Regions from separate parts of the Homo sapiens genome. Here region 2 is linked to region 1. Evidence: promoter capture Hi-C in 16 types of primary human blood cells and fetal thymus (Javierre and others, 2016). All regions are on one chromosome and are shown on one strand. The core of a region is centred on a gene start or on the middle of the fragment in contact, and the rest is flanking DNA. Distances in the headings are between cores, read along the strand shown. Region 1 holds the start of ELK1 (ETS transcription factor ELK1). Region 2 overlaps LINC01560 (long intergenic non-protein coding RNA 1560).

Evidence for each region. Contacts are between HindIII fragments. The CHiCAGO score rates a contact against its expected background, and 5 or more counts as called.
Region 2: a fragment that was not itself captured here is called in contact with the fragment with the promoter of ELK1 in region 1 in 5 of 17 cell types (non-activated CD4 T cells, naive CD4 T cells, activated CD4 T cells and 2 more); the score reaches 6.4 in non-activated CD4 T cells.

The regions. Positions count from the first base shown.
Region 1 is chrX:47,648,480-47,652,924 of GRCh38, reverse strand. ELK1 (ETS transcription factor ELK1) reads left to right here and starts at 2,362. Exons shown (of 7, transcript NM_001114123.3): 1 at 2,362-2,502; 2 at 2,899-3,004. UXT (ubiquitously expressed prefoldin like chaperone) reads left to right here. Exons shown (of 7, transcript NM_004182.4): 6 at 781-844; 7 at 1,030-1,129. The coding sequence ends at 1,083. RefSeq lists a silencer at 2,178-2,587 and a cis regulatory region at 1,919-2,899. The HindIII fragment of the contact is 5,079 bases long and covers 1-3,982 here.
Region 2 is chrX:47,483,395-47,487,839 of GRCh38, reverse strand. LINC01560 (long intergenic non-protein coding RNA 1560) reads right to left here. Exons shown (of 1, transcript NR_126059.1): 1 at 2,613-4,445. Among named protein-coding and RNA genes, the nearest start is that of ZNF41, 2.4 kb to the right of the region's middle. The HindIII fragment of the contact is 1,138 bases long and covers 2,627-3,764 here.

The sequences.
Region 1 (4,445 bases), core at 1,113-3,612:
TTGGGCGAGATCTGATCCAAACTGGCTTAGAGAAAAGGAGTCAACTGACTGGTTCATGTAATTCAACCTCCTTCCTCTGCTGCAACCTTCCCTTGGCTCCCATCTCACTTAAGGTCAAAGCCAGGGTCCTTACCATGGCCTTGTAGGCTTCACACAGTTTGTCTCCCTCATTACCTCTCTGACCTCACCTCTTACATTCCCCCTTCACTTATTCTTCTCCAGCCAGAGTGGCCTCTTTGCTGCACCTCAAACATGCCAGGCACACTCCCACCTCAGTGCCTTTGTGTTTGCTGCCCCTTGTGTGTGGAACACATCCTCCATATAGCCACACTACTCAAAATTCACTGTCTTTAAGTCTTTACTCAAATGCTTCTCCGTGAAGCCATCCCTGAGCCCTCTTTAAAATTGCAGCCCCCCACTCCTGTACTCCTTATTGTCTCTCATTTTTAATTTTTGTTATTGTAGTTAGAACCATCTGACACATAGCTTTTATTCCATTGGTTTTTTGTTATGTCTTTCTTTACAAGAATTTGAAGTCCATCAGGCCGGGAGTTTTGTTTGTTGTGTTTGCTGCTATCTCCCAGTGCCTAAAATTGCCTGGCATACAGTAGGCATTTAATAATCTTTGAATCAGTGAAAACCAGATGGTGGCTTGGCATTTCCACATAGGAATGAGCCAGGTGGAAATCATCCAGGATATAAGTAGATCTTGAAGTGATAAGGAAGGGTCATCATAATCATGTGGGGCCCATTTTGCCCTTTCTTGTTTCTTTTCTCTAGGCTCAGCAACAGCCTCACCAAGGACTCCATGAATATCAAAGCCCATATCCACATGTTGCTAGAGGTGAGAGCAGCTCACCCCACTACCAGACTCTGTGTTTAGGGTGGTGACCTGAAGAAGGAAGAGAGCGAAAGAAGGGAAGGACCATCTTTCCCTCTAAACTGGAGTCAAGGGAGGGAGGTCAGAGCAAGCCTGGGGGCGTAACCCAGACCCAGTCTTTGTTCAATCTCTTCTGTCCTCTTTTTCAGGGGCTTAGAGAACTACAAGGCCTGCAGAATTTCCCAGAGAAGCCTCACCATTGACTTCTTCCCCCCATCCTCAGACATTAAAGAGCCTGAATGCCTTTGAGTCACATGGCCCTTCTTTTTCCCCATAAACCCTGCTAGTTGCCACGGGGGCCTGTTCCTAGGGCACAAAGTTACTGAGAGACCCAGAGATCCAGTCTCTCTGTGGAACCTCCAAAATGCCCCAGCAGTCCTGCCTCCAGCCTGTTGCCTGGCAGTATTTGCCAGTTGACCTTATGCACTGCCCTCTCTTCTGTCATCTTGGCAACCTGGGCCCCCCACCTCACCCTTTCTTCCATTCCTTTTCCTAGACGCCACCCTTTGAATTGCCATAGAGAATGGGCCAATTCATGGTGGAGGTTTGTTCATTCCCACAACAATCAAAGGGCCCTAAGGTTTACGCTTTCACACACCCAATCATTCCCCAGGTACCCCAAATTACACCCAAACCCTAACTCAGCCCTACCTTGTCTTAGCCCCTGCTTGTAAGTGTTCCAGCTTCCAATGGGCACAGACCTGGATCCCGCTCTCCCTAGTCGGGCCCCTATTCTAGGTTGAGTCCAGCCACCGCCAATCAATGCAGAGCCAGGTTCCTCCCCTTTTTAACTCTGGCCGCAGTTCAACCCTGCCCTCTGAAAGCATTTCGTTTCTGCCACTCAATGCTCTTTCGTGTGCCTGACAGCCATCCTGCCCTCCTACCTCCGCTGTGTTCTAAATTCGTCTTTACCCAGCTCTATGGTCTTGTCTAACCGTAGAGCTGCCCTGCCCGCCTACGCGGAGCCCAGTCCGACCCACTCCCGCCGGCTGCTACGCCCATTTCTATACAAGCCCTGCTTCCGCTGAGCAGCATGGCGTGCGACACCGCCCCCTTGGTGTTTTGGCAGGGGTCTAGAAGTCCCTCGTCCGCCAATCAGAGAAAAACAGGGCCACCCACCCCCGTCCTTGGGGGCTGTCTTCCATCAATCCCATGTAAGCCAATCAGTGTGAGGCAGACCCCCGCCCCCCCGACACAGGCCCCGAGCCTTTTCAGTTGCTCACAGTCCGTCAGTCCTTGAGCCAATCGGCGTGGAGCACCGTGAAGGCCGAACGCGCCTCCTCGGGACTCCAGGGGCCGTGAGCGTTCCATCATTTCCCCTTACGCCAATCACGGCACAGCTCTGTAGGGAAGGGCCCGTCCCCCAACCCCTCGAGGCCTTGCGGCCGATTAATAGCGCTTTGGCCAATCAGCGAGCGGCGGGACATTGGGCTCCTCCTCCTCGGGCCCACGTGAGCTGTAGGGAAACGCAGGGGCGGCTTCTAGGTGCTGCCGCCGCCACCGCCACCACCACCTCCACCGCCGCCTCGGAACCCAGGCCTGGGGGGCGGTGGGGCCGCGTATGGAGCCCCCGCCCCCCGGAGCTGCCAACATTGCCAACGCCACCGCCACGCTACACACAGGTGAGCTCTGGGCCTGGAGGGTGGAGGGCCCAGTCCGTGACCCCACGTATCCTTCCCGCCCCCGCGCAGAGGATGTGGCTTGGCCGGTGGCCTGCTGGTGTTCGACTCCCCGCCGCCACCACCACGGCTGGTGGACCTGCGTGTGGCATTGCTCAAGCCCTTCGTCCCTTATAGTGGATCTGACCGTGGCCTAACCTCCCCCTCCCGTTGTATAATGGATCGGTCTGCGTGCTTATGTTTTTCCCCACGCCAACTTAGGGTGGACTCGTCCATAGGCTTTCCCCCTACCCCTACCCCCACCCGCCCCCCACCCACCCCCACTTATAGGGAGCTAGCCTGTGACAGTGTTCAGCCCCCTTAATAGTAGGTGTATCTGAGTGTTTGGATTTCTCCTAGCCTCAACTTTCAGGAGACCCGTCCGTGGCCTTATTTATTCCACCCTTCCTGTACATCGTAGCGAATCAATCCGTGGCGCCGCACTCCTCCGCATCCCTCTTTAACAGTGAGTCTACCTGAGTTTGTATTCCTGCCTCCTCCAGTCCCCCAATGCATCAGTCCATGGCTTTTTTCAAAACCACCCCCCCCCCCCACCACCACCACCACCATTTTATAGTGGATCAGTCTTCATGTTTGGATTCACGTCCCTTTAGCTATCAGTCCATTGCCCTGTCTCCTCTTTTTCGTAGACTGTCGCTCTAGCGCTTGGGGTTCTCTCCTTTTTAATAGTGGGTTAGTTTAGTGCTTTACATCTCCCTATTTTCAGTAGCTCAGTCCATAGCCTTTTCCCTCTCTGCTTTGAATCAGTCTGTGTGATGGCTTTTCTCTCCTCTCACTGTGGTGCAGGAGTCTGTAAGGTTTTCTGCTCCCCTTCCCCTCAGACGATGAGCCTCATCACCCCTCCCTTTGCAGTGGATCTGTTCATTGGCCTTCCTCCCCCACACCCCTGTATGCTTGCACAGTCCCCCGCATACCCTCCCGTGAGTCCAGTGCTTTGTAATTGGGGGAAGATCGGCCGTGTACTTTCAATTTCCTTCTCTTTTTTTTTCCCTTCCCAGAAGAGAACGTGCTGATCCTCTTTTCCTTGTGATGGAGCACTGTACGGCCTTCCCTGTCCTCCACCTCTTAATAGTGGGTCAGCCTGGTCACACTCGTAACCACAAAGACGTTCTGCCTCACTACAATAAGTGAATACATTAGCGCCAGTGATGATAGTAATGCCAATAGGAGCTAGCGTTTATTGAGCACCTGCCGTATATCAGGCAGAGTGTTTCATATGAATGAGTTCCTTTAATCCTCACCACAACCCCATGAGATAGGTAGTGAGGGAATTGGGCCATAGGGAGGTTAAATTCCTTACTCAAAGGTGGCCCAGGAAGTACTCAGGACACAGGATAATTTTTGAGGCTCCCCTCTTAGATCTCATCCCACCCCACGTGAGGCCTCAGTCCTTAAAAACCAAATTAGTTCTCACCTCCAAGCTTTTGTTCTTGCTGTTCCCTCTGCCTGCAGAGCAGTCTTCATTCCTCACCTTCTCTCAGCACCCACCCACCCCCCAATCCCAGCAGCTGTGTGACCTTAGATGAGTGATTTAACCACTTCCTCTCTGTGCCTTTTTCTTCATTTGTGAAATGGGGGATCAGAACTAGAATCCCTTCCAGTGTAAATAAATATTAACTGTGAATTAATGGTAAAACAAGTAACCTTTCTAGCATTACCGCCTATACCTTCCCACCCCCTTACTGTGCTCCAACCACACTGGTTCCACCACACAGCTCCTCAAACATAGCAGGCATGGGCCAGCCTCAGGGCCTTTGCATTGGCTGTTCTTTGTGCCTTGAACACCACCCCCAGATCTCTGCATGGTTCCTTTCAGCACTCTGTTCAAATACCAACCCCCAAAGGATGTTTACCACACTGTGGTGTGTGGAATGCAGTATAAAAAG
Region 2 (4,445 bases), core at 1,946-4,445, 170 kb after region 1:
TTAAGTTTTATTTAACTTAAATTTAAACAGCAGGCCAGGCGTGGTGGCTCATGCCTGTAATCCCAGCACTTTGGGAGGCCAAGGCAGGTGGATCCCTTGAGGTCAAGAGTCTGAGATCAGTCTGGGCAACATGGTGAAATCAAGTCTCTACAAATACAAAAATTAGCTGGGCGTGGTGGTACATGCCTGTAGTCCCAGCTACTTGGAGGGCTGAGGTGAGGGGATCACCTGAGCCTGGGAGGTAGAGGCTGCAGTGAGTAGAGATCGTGCCACTACACTCCAGCCTAGGTGACAGAGTGAGACCCTGTCTCAAAAAATAATAATAAAAAATAAAATAAATAGCCAATGAGCTTAGACGCTACCTTATTAGACAGCTAATACAGTGAAAAAAGAAGAAATATATCAAATGTCAGATAGGAAATATTATCTATATCTGATACAACTGTACAATTAGAAAACCTAGGAAAAAACTGTAATAAGAAGCTACCAGAATAGGTAGATAGTTTTGATAAGGAGTTGGATACAAGATAAAATTATCACCTGTAGTCCCAGCCATTAGGGAGGCTGAGGTGGGAGGATCACTTGAGTCCAGGAGTTTGACACCAGCCTGGGCAACATAGGGAGAACCTATCTCTACGGAAAAATTTAAAAATTAGCTGGGTCTGGTAGTGCACACCTGTAGTCCCAGCTACTTGGGAGGCTGAGGAAGGAGGATCATTTGAGCCTGGAAGGTTAAGGCTACAGTGAGCTGTGATCATGCCAGTGAACTTCAAGGCAAGATCCTATCTCAAAAAATAAAAATAAAAGAGAAAAGTACAAAAATAGGTTATTCCTATACTAGCAGTAACCAGATGGGACTAGCAAAAATAAGTCTTAATGACAACAAAAATATAAATATGCAAAAAATAAATTTAACCAAAAAAGATAAAAAGATGATGGATTTATAAGAAGAAAAATTATAAATATCATTGCAGCATATAAGACGTAATCAAACAGACACATAAAATCCCTAGATACAAAGAAAGGCTTAATGTAATAAAAACATTAAATCTCCCCAACTATTATATTCATATAAATATAATTCCAATAAAATCATAATAGTTTATTTATTTTTTTTTTTGAGACAGAGTCTTGCTCTGTCACCCAGGCTGGAGTGCAGTGGCACGATCTTAGCTCATTGCAACCTCTGCCTCCCGGGTTCAAGCAATTCTCCTGCCTTAGCCTCCCGAGTAGCTGGGATTACAGGCGTGCGTCACTGTGCCAATTTTTGTATTATTAGTAGAGATGGGGTTTCACCATGTTGGCCAGGCTGGTCTTAAACTCCTGACCTCAAGTGATCTGCCTGCCTGGGCCTCCCAAAGTGCTGGGATTACAGGTGTGAGCCACCTCACCCAGCAATAGTTGAGGGTTTGCTTTTTTTTTTTTTTTTTGAGAGAGTCTCACTCTGTTGCCCAGGCTGGAGTGCAGTGGCGTGATCTCTACTCATTGCAACCTCCACCTCCTGGGTTCAAGCAATTCTCCTGCCTCAGCCTCCCAAGTAGCTGGGATTACAGGTGCCTGCCACCACGGGTGGCTAATTTTTTTATTTTTTAGTAAAGACAGGGTTTCGCCATGTTGGCCAGGCTGGTCTCCAACTGCTGGCCTCAAGTTATTTGCCCACCTTGGGCTCCCAAAATGCTGGGATTATAGGCATGAGCCACCTCGCCCAGTCACAACAATTTAGTTTTGCTGTGTTTTTGTTTTTTTTTGCGGGGGGTGGGGGACGGGTTGGTAGCATTCATTTTTGATTAAATGATTTTAAACTTCAGAGAATTCCTAGAAAATAAATTTGCAAGAACAAAAATCCCTTGAAATCAAATAGACTACAGACACAAAATAGAGTTCAGGTCAAGCTAAGCATATTTGTGAACTTATATGACAGAAGCAATATTTAATTCAGTGGTTACAAGGTGGTGTGTTTCATAAATGGTGCCAACTGGCAATACTGAATTTTACCTCATCCTGGTGAGCAGTGCAGGTCAAGAAATCCCCTTACTCCAAAGGGAAAATGGCTTTTCTGGAAAATGGCTTACTGCAAAGAACCATCCTTCCCCATATGACTTAGAAGTCACGGATGTCCCCTGTTTACCTATGAGAAGGCCAGACACCCACTCTCCAAATTCCCATTCTTTGCCTCATAGATGACAAGCCTAACTGCTTGTCTCCACTGATCAATTGGAACAAAATGCTCTTTAGCCAAACTTGAACCAGGCTTCTTTCCTACAAGCTCCTAACTCTGCTTGCCCCCGAGCCTGGGCAAGCATCAAAAAAAGTCGAAATTCCTCCCCTCCCAATGGACCCTGCTTCTCAGCTTCTCCTGGGAATGGGCGCACCACTGTGGGACAATTTCCTGGCAGACCCCACTGGCCATTCCCCCTTGTTTGTGCAGCTTCCTTTCCACAGATTCTGCTTATCTCTGCCTGCCTCCTTACCCTCTACAAGAAAAGCCTTTTTCTGTTTGGTTTCAAGATGCTCTCAGGTTTCTGAGATGGGAGCATTCTCCCTTTTGCAATAGTCTGTCTTTCTAATTAAAGTCTCTTTTTATTTGACACAGAAAAAAGTGTGACACAGGCTTCTTGTTCAAGCTTGATCTTGATTTCATACCATATACCAGAGTAAATTCCAACTAGATTAAAGTAGAAAAAATTAAAGCAATAAAAACACTGAAATACATGTTAAGATTATCTTTCTATCTGGAATAGGGAAGTGAAACTAGGCAAGATGGGATATACAAAAGCCATAAAAGAAAGTTTAGACATATCTGATCAGAGGCTACATTTCACTAGTTACATATTACACATACAATTTTTCTTTCTTTTTTTTTTTTGAGATGAAGTCTTGCTCTATCACCCAGGCTGGAGTGCAGTGGCCCGAGCTCAGCTCACTGCAATCTCCACTTCCCAAGTTCAAGCGATTCTCCTGCCTCAACCTCCCGAGTAGCTGGGATTACAAGCGCCCAACACCATGCCCGGCAATTTTTTTTTTTTTTTTTAGTTGAGATACCACGCCTGGCTATTTTTTTTTTTATTTTTAGTAGAGATGGGTGCTGGGATTACTGTGCCCAGCCCATATAAAATTTTTCTAATTGCACATTTAAAAAAACATAAAATGCAAAAGACAAAAAGAGTTTAGGGAAAAATACTGCAATGTAACTGACAGATGGTTAATATCCTTAATGGACAAAGATGTTAATATCTCTAATGTAATATCCCTAATGTACAGTGTAACTGACAGACTGTTAATATCCCTAATGTACAATGTAATTTGTACACTGTTTACAAATTGATACGAAAAGGAAAAATCACCCTAAAGAAAACTGGACAAAGGATATGAACATTTGCAAAAGAGAAAAGCCAAATGGCCAATAGACCAAAACAATCCTCAATTGCACAAAGTAGTCAGAAAAATACAAAATTAAAGACAGCATCAACATCCAGCGCTGGAGGGGATTTGCCTTAATGAACTTAATGATTTTGCTGGTAGGACTAGGAAACTTTATAATCTTTTGGGGGAAGGAATTTGGCTATATCTATTCAGTAATGAAACCTGCAGTTAATAATAAAACTTCAAAACATAGGAAGCAAAAATTGAATAGCACAAGGAAAACCTGCCAGTACAGTCTCTCTCTCTCCTCTCTCTCTTTCTCCCTGCCACATCACCCCCAGTTGACAAGCTGAAGGGAATTATCAGGAAACACACATTTTAAAAGGCCCAACGCACAAGCTTGAACCAATAGAGCCGCAGAGTACGATAAATCCAACAACTAGAAGATACAGTGTTTTCAATCAAGGCACAAAACCATTTTTGAAAGCTGGCCTCGTACTTGAGCCTTAAGGCAAGTTTCATCAAATTTCAAACTCAACGTTCTTGGGCCACAAGGCAAATGGGCTTAGAAATCACTAACACAGGGATTAACTTCTTGTTCGTTTGCGGAAATGCAAAATGGTGTTAAGACCTGTAACATTTTCTGCAGTCCCTCTAAATTCCTTCTTTGAATAATCGATTCCTAGAACAGGACGCGACGGACCAAGCTGGGTCAAACTGCCGACAGCTCCATTGGGCAGCATGTCCACCCCTGATGACCAAATCCCACCAAACGTGCAGCTGGCACTCGGCCGCCTTTGTTTCCTTCCCCTAGAATAAAACTCCGCTGCTTTCCCACGTTCCTGGAGCAGCAGCCGGAATAAAGCGCCCATGGCCTTGCCCTTTGAGTCTCGGAGGATGTTTGCCACTCCAACAATGGACTTTTAAATAATTCAGGGGTCAAAAGGCGTGTGTGGGGGGGGGAGAAAAGTTACAAATCAGCACTTGAAACCGAACACAAACAAAAATCAAACAAATCCGAACTAATATAACAAATCAAAACTTTGATCTTTAGAAGAAAACTTCAACCTTAATGCTTCCAG